Regions from separate parts of the Homo sapiens genome. Here region 1 is linked to region 2. The links are contacts of gene promoters, found by promoter capture Hi-C in blood cells and fetal thymus (Javierre and others, 2016). All regions are on one chromosome and are shown on one strand. Each heading gives the region's core, a stretch centred on a gene start or on the middle of the fragment in contact. The rest is flanking DNA. Distances are from core to core; before and after follow the strand shown. Region 1 has its middle 8.7 kb from the start of TRW-CCA2-1. Region 2 holds the start of ALDH3A1 (aldehyde dehydrogenase 3 family member A1).

Region 1 (6,218 bases), core at 2,866-5,365, 230 kb before region 2:
CTTTTTGACAGTAGCTCTTCTAGAATTATTAATATTTCCAAGGCTAAGAAACTCATCACTAGATCAGTCAGCAAAAGAAGATTGTGTAAGTTCAGAACTTAGACCAAGAGTGTGTTCCACTGTCACCCAGCTCCAAGACAGGGACCCGTTGATTCTGTGACCTGCATGCTGCGATGGATCATTCAAATGCACAACAGGCTCCTGAGGCCATCACAGGCCGCCTGGCTCTTGTCAGGCCCTCCTGGTGGGGAGATTTTGACCACAGTTAGCAAAGGATAGAGCAAAGGACAGTTTCGCTGTCTAAAAAGCAAAATCTCAGAACACCGGCAGAGGGCGCAAACGGCAAGCCCAGGAATCACAGGGACGTCACTGCGAACATCTTTTTCCTCCAACATAGAACTAATTAACTTTGTGCTTGGGTATTCTCTAAAATAATTTCTGGAAAACCATGTAACCCTTGTACATTTTCTAAGTGGGCATAAAACATTTTCACCATAATTAAAAATAGTTGCGAGGGCTGGCATATCGCAAATAGTAACATTTAAAAATAAAACGATTACATCATTGTTTTAAATATATCCAATGACATATACACAACACAATTTGATACTGTCACCCATTTTTTAAAAATACATGAACAAGTTCTTCCTTAACAGTCAGAATCATTCATCTTTCCTTTTTCTCTTCATATTTCCGTTCCTTCCCCCATCAATTTGTAATATACTTTTATGCTGAAAGTCTTTTATTTACCACTCTACCATGACTCTTGCCACAAAAATACAAATGTAAATTGAAAATTAAAATGTCTCATTTCCTGAGACCTTCAAAGGCTAAGTATTAACAATTTTTCTTTGGGATAGAATTATCACTATTTTAAAAAATATTTTTTGGCTCCCTCAAATCATGGGAACTATAATTAATATCAACACAGCATTGCTACAAACAACACAAATATATTACACATCTTGATAATGTATTATGAGGTTTTGAAGTTGTCAGACTGCCTCTTTGGCACCTGACAAGTGTTTCCACCTTGGAGCAATGTGAGGTACAATGTAGGTGAGAAGGTGTCTTTCTTTAGTGACAAATACACTGAGAAGAGAAAGGAGAAGGCAGTTTTAACCAGAAACTTGGGAATCTGGAACAGTAGTTGCTTTTTTTTTTTCTTTGAGATGGAGTCTCACTCTGTCGCCCAGGCTGGAGTGCAATGGCATGGTGGCATGATCTCGGCTCACTGCAGCCTCTGCCTGCTGGGTTCAAGCAATTCTTCTGCCCCAGCCTCTCGAGTAGCTGGAATTACAGGCACCTGCCATCGTGCGCAGATAATTTTTGTATTTTTGTAGAGACAGGGTTTCACCATGTTGGCCAGGCTGGTCTTGAACTCCTGACCTCAGGTGATCCACCTGCCTCTGCCTCCCAAAGTGCTGGGATTACAGTCATGAGCCTTAAAACTTTCCTTGTCACACACAGTATTCCCTTGTCACATACAGTATTGACTACTCCAGTTTGAAGATGCGGTCAAAACCTGCTATGGAGAGACTGGGAAAGCTGACCGAGCCAGTGGCCCACTGGAGGGACCACAGCAGAGCAGACGGAGCAATAACATTCCAGATGCTGGGGGAGGAGCACACCCCAAGGTCTTTGCATGGCCCCGGAGTGCTGGGCCAGATGTCACTCAGCCAAGTCAACCCAAAGGAAGCCTGGAGACCGAGTCACAGGTAGAATCTGTGCAAAGGGAGGAGTAGACATTTTAAAAAAGAAAAAGAAAAACGCAATTTTCCCAAATAGCTTTGTTACTTTTTGACAAGGAATAACAGAACACCCGTGAGTAGGTAGTTTTTCTGTTTAAAAAAAAAAATTTTTTTTGAGACATAGTTGCGCTCTCTCACCCAGGCTGGAATGCAGTGGCACCATCTTGGCTCACTGCAACCTCTGCCTCTCAGGTTCAAGCGACTCTCCTGCCTTAACCTCCCGAGGAGCTAGGATTACAGGCGCCCACCGCCACGCTAATTTTTGTATTTTTTAGTAGAGACGGAGTTTTGCCATGTTGCCCAGGCTAGTCTCAAATTCCTGACCTCAGGAGATCTGCCTGGCTCGGCCTCTCAAAGTGCTGGGCTTGAGCCACCACTCCCGGCCTGTTTTAAATGTTTTAACTTGGGTTAAAGTGTTTCTATTTTAAGTGTTACATATGTCTATAGTCTATTTAATTGCCTTACTTTGCAATAAGACACTGAAATAATTTATAGCTCTTTAAACTCCACTTTTAGGGGCTGGATACAGTGGCTCACGCCTATAATCCCAATGCCTTAGGAAGGCCAAGGTGGAGGGATCGCTTGAGGCCTGGAGTTCAAGCCTAGCCTGGCCAACATGGCAAGACTGCTACCCCCAACTATTATTATTCTGAGACAGGATATCTCTCTGTTACCGAGGATGGAATGCAGTGGTGCCGTCAGAGCTCACTGGGACCTTGAACTCCTGGGCTCAAGGAATCCTGATGCCTCAGCCTCCTGTCTGTCTGGGGCTACCAGCATGTCCACACCTGACTAATTTTTGTATTTTTTTGTAGCAATGGGGTCTCACTATGTTGGCCAGGCTGGTACGGACTACTGGCTTCAAGTGATCCTCCAGCCTCAGCCTCCCAAAGGGGTGAGATTATGGGTGTGAGCCACCCCACCTGGCCTAGTTATTTTTTAATTAAAATTATTATTTAAATAATATTTATTTTTATTAGTGGCTCCGGAGTGCAATCCCAGAAACTCAGAAGGCTGAGGAGGGAGGATTGCTTGAACCCAGGAGTTCAAGACCAGTCTATCAACATAATGAGACCCAGTCTCTACCAAAAATAAATAAATAAATAATTAGTCGGGAGTCTAAGTTCCAGCTACTTGGGAGACTGAGACGGGAGGATCGCTTGAACCCAAGAGATCGAGTCTACAGTGAGTGATGATCGCACCACTGCACCCCAGCCTGGGTGATAGAGTGAGATCCTGAACCAAAAAAAAAAAAAAAAAAAAAAATAGAGATAGTTTGTACTTGAATGCAACTTAAGTCCCCTACTTGTTGAAGACCGCCCATGATTGTCTGGTCTTAGACATTTTGAAATGGGATGAAATGTATGTGCCTTAGCAGAAAGAACAAGCTTTAAAGTTAGACATATTTACATTTAAATCCTGGTTTGACCAGTTGCTTTTACATAAGCCTTAGTTTTCTCACCTATGAAGAAATAAGAATAAGAGATAATAATGCCCATTGTGATTTTTTTTTTCTTTTTGGTGAGAATCAAATGAGAATGTGTTATAGGGCCTGGCAGTTAGGTGTTCAAAACTGGGGGTTATTCTTGTGGTGATGCTGAACAGGGCTGTCTTTATACTTCCATTGCTCTGAGGGCCAGGACTTCTGGGGCCAGCTCTTGCCCTAAATTCCTGTGTGACCTTGGGCAAGTCCCATTTTCCTCTGAGGCCCAGTGACCCCATGTGTCCAATGCAAGCTGGAGAGGCCTCCAGCTTTGACACTCTCGTGATAACTCTCTACAGCCTTGCTGCTTAGAAGGTGGGCCTCAGACCCGCAGCAGAGGAGGCCTGGGAGTAGCTGCAGACTCTCAGACCCCACCCAGACCTACCCCAGACTCTGAATCAGCACCTGAACAAGGTTTCCAGGTGATTCTCATGCACGTTGCGGCCGAAAAGATTCTGCCCAACTGTTCCGAATTAAACTGATTTGAAGTACCTTAGTTGACGAACCAAACCACCAGAATGATTGGGAATTTAGACATTTTGTTGACTCTAGGAATTAGGCATATCCTGACAGTTTAGAGACATTACTTTTCATTTCTGACTCCTCACATCTGAAAATATGGAATTTATTCATTCTGAATGTTTTATTTCTGGGGACAGCAGGTGCTCCCAGTGCATTTGCTGAATGAGTGATGAGCTGTGTATGGAGTTGGATATTCCTGTCTTTTGATTATCTGTTGTTAAATGATGACCTTTTGTTCCCACTCTGTTTCTGGAATCAGGCAGAAGTAATTTCCAGTCCCCTATCTGCCACTGATTAGCCATTCAGCTCCAGGCAAGTTACTTAAACCATTTGAACTGCAATTCACCCATCTGAAGAAAGCAAGTAATAACCCCCTCTAGGATCCTTGTCAGGATTATGAGGTAATGGCTGAAAACACTCAGCCCAGCCCTAGAATATGGCAGCTGTTAATGATATTACAAGAAGGAAATGTCATTACATCAAATAGTAGGTAATGGACAATGGTATTACATTATTATAGTTGTCATTGTTATTAATATCTTGGGGACAGATTCAAATGGAGCTATAGGACAAAAAGTGCTTCTGGGCATTCTCCCTCAGTGATCAGATGACACCCAGGTTCCTGGAAGATGGTTCCCTCCAAGGTCTTTGATATTACTTCTGGTCTGGTGTCACACTTGGTCCACAGTGGCCCCTCACAGGCATGACCAAGCAAACACTCTTCTCCAAAGATGGCTTACAATCTGAGAGTCCTTGTACTTCTTACAAACATAGTCCCTCAGATGACTCCAAGTGGCCTTTGTAGTTGCACAGAGCTTTCTGGACTGGAAAGATGGCGGACAGGATGTTCTCCTACTTTTTATTTTATTGATTGATTGATTGATTGATTGAGATGGAGTTTCGCTCTTGTTGCCCAGGCTAGAGTGCAATGGTGTGATCTCGGCTCACCGCAACCTCCTCCTCCCGGGTTCAAGTGATTATCCTGCCTCAGCCTCCCGAGTAGCTGGGATTACAGGCATGTGCCACTATGCCCAGCTAATTTTGTATTTTTAGTAGAGATGGGGTTTCTTCATGTTGGTCAGGCTGGTCTCGAACTCCCTACTGTCTCATGCATCCATGTGACGAGACCACCAAACAGGCTTTGTGTGAGCAACAAGACTGTTTACTTCACCTGGGTGCAGGAGGGCTGAGTCCGAAAAGAGAGTCAGCAAAGGGCGGTGGGATTATCATTAGTTCTTATAAGTTTTGGGATAGGCGGTAGAGTTAGGAGCAATGTTTCGTGGGCAGGAGGTGGATCTCACAAAGTACATTCTCAAGGGTGGGGAGAATTATAAAGAAGCTTCTTAAGAGTGGGGGAGATTACAAAGTACATTGATCAGTTAGGGTGGGGCAGAAACAAATCACAATGGTGGAATGTCATCAGTTAAGGCTATTTTCACTTCTTTTGTGGCTCTTCAGTTGCTTCAGGCCATCTGGATGTATACACGCAGGGCACAGGGGTTATGATGGCTTAGCTTAGGCTCAGAGGCCTGACACCTACGTCAGGTGATCTGCCACCTCGGCCTCCCAAAGTGCTGGGATTACAGGCTGAGCCACCATGCTTGGCCCTTATTTATTTATTTATTGAGACAGGGTCTCACTCTGTTGCCCAGGCTGGATTGCAGTGGCACAATCATGGCTTGTTGCTGCCTTGACCTCCCGAGCTCAAGCAATCCTCCTACCTCAGCCTCCTGAGTAGCTGGGACTAGAGGCTCATGACACCATGCCTGGCTAATTCTTAAATTTTTTTGTAGAGATGAGGTCTTACTATGTTGCCCAGGCTGGTCTCCAACTCCAGGGCTCAGCCTCCCATCCCATGATGCTGCCTGTTTCTTGAGTCCAGGGGTCATGTTTGATGGGGAACAGAATGACTTCAGCTAAGTCATCTCTGTCAAGACCTGGAGTATTTTATTTTAACCTCCAAAATCCAACACTAGTCCCATTCTGACCTGCACTCAAGAGCAGTGCTGAGTCAACTGAGCTCCTGGCCAGTCTGGGGGCTTGAGCTCCATCCTGGTTGAGCACGACCAAGCCCTTAGAGTTATCAGACACCCTTGGCTATCTCTGGTCTGCACATCCTGAGCCCAGATTGCAGCAGCAATTGGCCTAGGCATTAACCTTGGGCACTGCCTGGAGATTGTTGGGCTGAGTCATAAAAGATGTTGTGGGGGAAATAAAGAGAAATCAGACTGTTATTGTATCTATTAGAAAAAGGAAGACATAAGAAACTCTATTTTGATCTGTACTAAGAAAAATTCTTCTGCTTTGAGATGCTGTTAATCTGTAGACCTAGCCCCAGCCCTGTGCTGGCAGATAACATGTGCTGTATTGACTCAAGGTTTAAGGGATTTAGGGCTGTGCAGGATGTGCTTTGGTAAAAATGTGTTTGCAGGCAGTATGCTTGGTAAAAGTCATCACCATTC
Region 2 (6,625 bases), core at 3,859-6,358:
GGACGGTGCTCCCCCAGCTTCCCTTCCCACAGGGCCATGCACCTGCAGCGATGGCGCCCACCATGGGCTGGATGGTGAGGTTGAAGGGGTAGTTCCAGGTGCCAATGACGAGGACCACGCCCAGTGGCTCCGAGTGGATGTAGAGCTCGTCCTGCTGAGTCTGGGGCGTCTTCTCCACGGGCTCATCCGCGGCCCACTCAGGGAGCTTCTGGATCATGTACTCGATCTCCTCTAGGACGTACACCACCTCCTCATAGTAGGCGTTCCATTCATTCTGCAGCGACAGAGCCGGAGTGAGCTTCCAGGGCCAGGGCCCGCCTGCAGCTGGGGCGAGTGGGGAGCCCCACTGCTCAGCTGCCAGGGTGATGGGGGTCACTCACCCAGCCCAGGGTGGGGGCAGCCGCAGAAGGCTCCCAGGGGAAGCAGAGCCAGGATTAGCCGTTGGACCTGTGGGTCTGAGAGGACCCCTTTCTGCCAGAGGGGGGCCCAGGTAGGTTTGCGGCCCCAGGGGAGAGAGCCGGTGAAGGGACCAGGCATGGGCAACGGAATGGATCCAGGTAGGGGGAATAGAGCCGGGCAGGGGAGAGTAGATTCAGGCAGTGGGAATGGATCCGGGGAGGGGGGGATGGATCCGGGGAGGGGGGATAGATTCGGGCACTGGGAGCTGGATCCGGGCAGGGTGGAGGGAGCCAGGCCCTTTAGTTGTCTGGAGGGGGATGCAGGACCAAGGGCTGCTGGGCGCTCAGGGCCTCCTGTGGGGAGCAGGGGTGAGAAGAGGAGATGCAGACGGCGGAAAACGCGTCTCTTTTATAAACTTGGGCTGTGAAGAGCAACACAGAAGCTGTAAAGTCAACAGAATGGGTTTCCTTGTTGTTTCTGGTTTAAGATGAGAAGTCCTGAGCCATTTCTTGAAAAGTGCAGTAGCAGGCCCGGCGCTGTGGCTCATGCCTGTAATCCCAGCACTCTGAGAGGCCGAGAACTCCTCCTGAGGAACTCCTGAGGGCAGGAGTTCAAGACCAGCCTGTCCAACATGGCGAAACCCTGTCTCTACTAAAAATACAAAATTAGCCGGGCATGGTGGTACACGCCTGTTGTCCCAGCTACTGGGGAGGCTGAGGCAGGAGAATTGCCTGAACCCGGGAGGCGGAGGTTGCAGTGAGCCGAGATCGCGCCATTACACTCCAGCCTGGGCGACAGAGCGAGACTCTGTCTCAAATAAATAAATAAAATAAAATAAAAATAAAAGTGCAGGAGCAAAGAGGGTAGTCGGTGGGAGGATGGGCTCCGGAGCGCTGGACCCCAGGCAGCATGTGGGGACAGCAGGGGGCTGCGAATGCAGAGGTGTCTGGTCTTGCTCAGGGTGAGGGACGGAACAGCCCCTGTGAGAACTGGGAGGGAGGGGAGAGCCCCCCATGCCCTCCGGGGTGCCAAGCTGCTCTGGTTCCTGGTGTGGAGAACCAAGTGGTCCTGCGTGGGGCTGAGGAATGGGGAGGACCAGAAGTTCAGGGTGTCGGGGCAGCAGGAAGTTGAAATGGGGGACGCTGCGGGCGGGACGCGGAGGCCGGGCCAGGAGGAAAAGGCCAGAGGGCGGAAGAGGCGGCGGGGGCGCGCGGGGCGCGGCGGAGGGGAGGGCGGTGCGCCCAGTCTCCGCGACCGAGGGGCCAGGTGGCCCCAAGTCCTTCCTGAACCTCTCTGGGTCGCACTCTCCCCAGCCCCTCCCCCCACGCCCCATCGCATGGCCCCGACACTGGCAGAAGGCGGCCGCCCAGCCTGAGCACCTTGTGCAGGTCTGCGGCCAGCGCGCCCACCAGCTCCTGCTCCTGCTCCTGGATCAGGCGCTGCAGCGCCTCCAGCTGCTGGATCCGGAACTGCAGCGGACGGGTCCTGCCCGAGCTGAAGGCGGCGCGGGCGCGCTTCACGGCCTCGCTGATCTTGCTCATGGCGCCTGGGGACAGAGAGCACCTGCAGCTGGCTGAGGGGCACGAGCGCGCCCTGCCTCCCACCCTGCCTGAATTCTATAGGAAGGGACTTCCCTGGGCTCGGCCTTGGGGAAAATGGCCTTTCCGCTGGAAGGTCCACTTTCTGCCTCGCCTCCTCTCCCGCCCCTCACTCAGACGCCTGGGCCCTGGCTGCCTTGCTAGCCCCTGAGAAGGTGACACCCGCCGCAACCCGAGTCCTAAGCCGAACTGCTGCTGGGGGCTCTTGGCAGCGTGCTCGCGGCAGGGCCTTTCCCGGCCTTTTCCGCTCCCTTACTTGCTTGCAAAGCTGATGGCACAATCCCAGACCAACACCCCCAGAGCTCTGCACACGCAGTCAGCCACTCTCCAGATCAGATTGGAGGGGCGCAGTCCGCGATTCCACACCCAAGCCGATAAAGAAAAACCCAGCACCACCCTCCTGGCTAAGCCATTGTTCTAAAAAGCGCTGGTTTCTTGGCAGAGCTGAACCAGGCTTGGTGTGTAAACCACGCGTGCCACACCTGGGAGACGCACGCCCATGCCCGCCAAGGATTCAGAGAGCTGCAGATTTCCACAAAGAGGTGTGGAGGCGATTCCTGCTACCAATACACGAAAGTATAGTGGCAAATCGGGATGGCCCTGCTGGGGGCAATTTGGCAATATGTGGCAAAAGTTTTTCAAACATACTTCTCTGTGACGAAAAGGTCCTACAGCCTTTCCTAAACATTCACGAATAAGAAAGTCATCACTGTTTTCTATAACAGGGAAGTATTGTAAACATCCCAAAGATCCGAAAGAAAGGAGACAGTTTAAATGACTCCTGTCACACCCACGTAAGGGTTTACTGTGCAGTATTTAGGGATTAGGTGGAGCAGGCTATTCAGCATGTTTGTAGGGGCTCTCTCTGCACCAGGGGTGTCTCAGGCACTGGGGATAAGAAAGAAAACAGGTTACAGGCCGGGCGCGGTGGCTCACGCCTATAATCCTAGCAAACACTTTGGGAGGCTGAGGTGGGCGGGTCACCTGAGGTCAGAAGTTCAAAACCAGCCTGGCCAACATGGTGAAACCCTGTCTCTACTAAAAATACAAAAATTATCTGGGAGTGGTGGCAGGCACCTGTAGTCCCAGCTACTTGGGAGGCTGAGGCAGGAGAATTGCTTGAACCAAGCTGAGAGGAGGAGGTTGCAGTGGGCCGAGATTGGGCCATTGCACTCCAGCACTTTGACCGGGAGAATGGAGCCATAATCACAGAGTTCTCCTATTAGATTAGTGGTAGGAGGTAAGGCAAGGTTAGTGAGATTTGCTAGAAGTCAAGAGGCTGTCAGTGGAAGCGGTATTTGAAGGCCTCGGGTAAGTAATATAATTACTTTCAGCGAGACTCCATCTAAAAAAAGAAAAAGAAAGAAAGAAAGAAAGAAAAACAGAAAACAAGTTACAGAACAACAGATGTACCAGGCGTGTGCATGTGTGTGTGTGCGTGTGTGTGTGTGCGTGTGCGTGTGTGTGCATGTGTGTGTGTGCGTGTGTGTGCATGTGCGTGTGTGTGTGCGTGCGTGTGTGTGCATGTGCGTGTGTGTGCGCGCGTGTGCGTGTGTGTGTGGGCGTGCACGCTCTAACATGCAAGAAAGGACTAGAACGGTAGCCCCCGACACGATGAGACAACTGATGGGGGTGGAATTATTGATGATCTGTTTTCCTCTTATGCAATGTTTGACTTTTTGCAATGAGCTTGTATTTTTTAAATTTTGGTGCGTTTTAAGATAGGCACTACATGCTCATGAAACAAAATGTAAAATATAGCAAAGGGGCACAGAAAAAAGTCTGCCTCCCTCCTCCCTGCTCCATCAGCTGTCAGGTGCTGCCCCACAGAGGGGCCACTGTTACCAGTTCCTTACTCCCCTTCCTGAGATACTCAGCCCACTTGCAGACCCGGCATAACTTTTAACATCAGCAGAAATAGGGTATTTCCATTTTTTTAAAAAACCCTATATATCATATGTAATATATAATTATATTGTATATAGATATATGGTCCTGCCTACATTCCAGCGAGTGGCTTCCAATCCTTCCTCTGCCTCCCCTCCCCATAGGCTGACCCCTAATCCCAGGCTTTCTGCACAGGGAGGAGGGACCTGCTGGCATTGAGGGTGCTCTAAGCCTGGCCCTTCCATGGTCCCTCCCTATGTTCTGATAGGAGGCTGGGAAAGCCCCCTCACTGGGACCTCCTCAGTCCCATGGGCCAGGCCCCTCCTGCTGACCACAACCCAGGAGAGAAGGTCCCGCTTCTCTCCCGAGCCTTGTACGGTCAAACCAAGGCAGGCAGCCCAGGTGGGAAGAGCCTGGTGAGCGTGGGACGGGATTGGCCTTGCACCCCAGCATCGCCACTTGGAACTGTGGTCTCTGGGCTGGACGGCCTTCCCAGGACTTCCCCGAGAGACAGGTTAACAAAGGTGCCACTTCACAGAGATGAGTGGACACCATCACGTCGCAGCTGCACCCAAATGGGAGCTGCTGCAGCATGCACTGGGGGCCTCCCCAGAGCCCGTCGCCTCACACCCCACATTCCTGCACCCCGCTCCTCTCACCTGTGCCAGTGTTGACTTTGCCCCCCAGTGACACCTCCTCCCCTCCTCATTGCCTTCCATCCTCACAAAAGCTCTGTAGTGATGCCCATGAAGAAGAAACGGTTATGAGTGCATTTTACAGATGAGGAAAGGGAGACTGAGAAACGTTTAATGCTGTATCTGATCTCACAGTTAGCAGGTGGCATGTCAGGGTTTGAACCCACATGCATCTCTGTCAGCAGCTCATGCCTTTAGCACTCGGCTCTGCTGCCTTCCTTCCAGTCATGGAGTCTGACGGCCCATCAGGGCCTCTCACTCCACGGCCACCTTGGTGTCCCTGCTCCGCGGATCCCTGGGACCTCTGCCTCCTGGTTTGGGGGATGGCAGAGCTGCCAGAGGTCCAGGAGGATGCTCCAGAGATGATGGTCCCAGAGGCAGGGACCCCCTGGAGAGATGATGTAGGACTCTTGACACTTAGGGCCCCGGCTCTGAGTGCAGACTCCACCTAGACAAGAGAAAAAATAAGGAATGCAGGGAAGAGGATTACCTTTGACACAGCCTCTCCCGGTAACTGGGGCTCCTGGAACGGCAAGAGCCAAGAGGGGACGTATTTAAGGACCCTGCTTCCCGTCCATTGAGCCCTTGGAGTTCCTGCCCAGGAAGTTTGCGTGACAAGAAAAAAAAATATTCAAATGTGGGGTGTGGCGTCCTCTGGACCTCTGCTCCCTACAGCCCAGGTTTTGGGGATTAGGTCCCGGGCTGTTTGCTTTTGTTCACTTCTGAAATGCGAGAATGTTTCTGAAGGCTTGGGCAGGGCACATCTCCAATCTTCAAAAGAGCCTATGTTTGCCCTGGGCGTGGGGGCTGCTGATTGATTCAGCCTGGCATGGAGCTCTTCCAGCTTTCCAGACTTGCCGCTGCCAGATGCGGTTCTCTGAGTTCTCTGGTTACATAAGATCGGCAGGGCTCAGCCACGAACCACAGTGAGAGCATGCAGCTCCCCCGAAACGCACCCCCAGCCACCGCTGCCCCGGGCCCTTCACATCCCCCAGTGTGCACAGGGCCCCATTGAGTCAGAGATCCTAACCCTGGGGAGCCACAGGCTGGGGACTTTTGATGGGGGTCTCCAATCCATAAATCTGCTCTCTCGTTGAATAGCTGAGAAGAGGGCCAAGGGTCTGTGTGGTCACCGAAAACCAGAGATGCTTGGGAAGGAAGGAGTCTGGAAAAGCCGTTCCCACGCTGTCTGATCAATGTTCGCTGGGCTCCTGCTCTGCACCACGCTGTGGGGAGGAGGCAGGTGTGGAACAGACTCTCGGCCCCTCTCACCAGGCGCTTCCCGCCACCCTCACCCGCCTGCAGGCAGACTGCTTACCAGCATGGGGTCCCTGCTTCCCATTTCATTCGAGGAAAACACAAGGTTCCGGTCCTGGCCTACGAGTCCTGAGGATGTGCTCTGGCCCTCCTGCTTCTCTCCACCTGGAGCCCCCTTCCCCTACATCCACCCACACGGCTACGCTCCAATGTGCTGTGGAAAATAGCACAATGCTGTCGTCTTCCTCCATTATTTTTTCTCTGGAGCGTTTATATCTTGTTTGCTACCTGTCCCTTAACTCCTGACAGCTAGAATTTGATTTGTTCACTGCTGTAACCTCCATACAGCATTTATAGTAGATGCTCAATAAATATTTATTGACTGACAAAATAAACAGGAAATTTCAAAATAATGTGAACACTGTAGTAACCAGGTAGGCAGAGGATGCTAGAGGGGCTGGGGTGAGAGTCCGTGGGAGGGAACATCATCTGAGCTGAGTGAGAAGCATTTGGGCAAGGAACAGCAAGGGGGCTGGAAGAGCAGAAGCAAAGGCACAGAGGCTGGGAACGTTATGTCACGAAAAAGTGCGATGTGTCCACTGTTGCCAGCAGGAGGTGTGGAGGTGAATGACTCTCCTGGGGCGGGGGCTCACGGAGGCCTGTGGGCCAGGCTGGCTGTGGGGGTGCAGGGCGCTGAGGAGATTATCAGACAGACAAATGTCTGCTATTTTTTGTTTTAGAGAACCCCCTGGACAGGGCACAGTGTGAGAAAGGTCTAGCCCAAAGGCT

What was found. Contacts are between HindIII fragments. The CHiCAGO score rates a contact against its expected background, and 5 or more counts as called.
Region 1: a fragment that was not itself captured here is called in contact with the fragment with the promoter of ALDH3A1 in region 2 in 11 of 17 cell types (naive B cells, naive CD8 T cells, endothelial precursors and 8 more); the score reaches 8.6 in naive B cells.

The regions. Positions count from the first base shown.
Region 1 is chr17:19,513,753-19,519,970 of GRCh38, forward strand. No RefSeq gene overlaps it. Among named protein-coding and RNA genes, the nearest start is that of TRW-CCA2-1, 8.7 kb to the left of the region's middle. RefSeq lists an enhancer at 5,074-5,793. The HindIII fragment of the contact is 1,956 bases long and covers 3,138-5,093 here.
Region 2 is chr17:19,743,190-19,749,814 of GRCh38, forward strand. It overlaps ALDH3A1 (aldehyde dehydrogenase 3 family member A1), which reads right to left and starts at 5,109. Exons shown (of 11, transcript NM_000691.5): 1 at 5,070-5,109; 2 at 1,779-1,945; 3 at 43-274. The coding sequence starts at 1,940. RefSeq lists a silencer at 1,699-1,758 and an enhancer at 1,818-2,785. The HindIII fragment of the contact is 17,326 bases long and covers 1-6,625 here.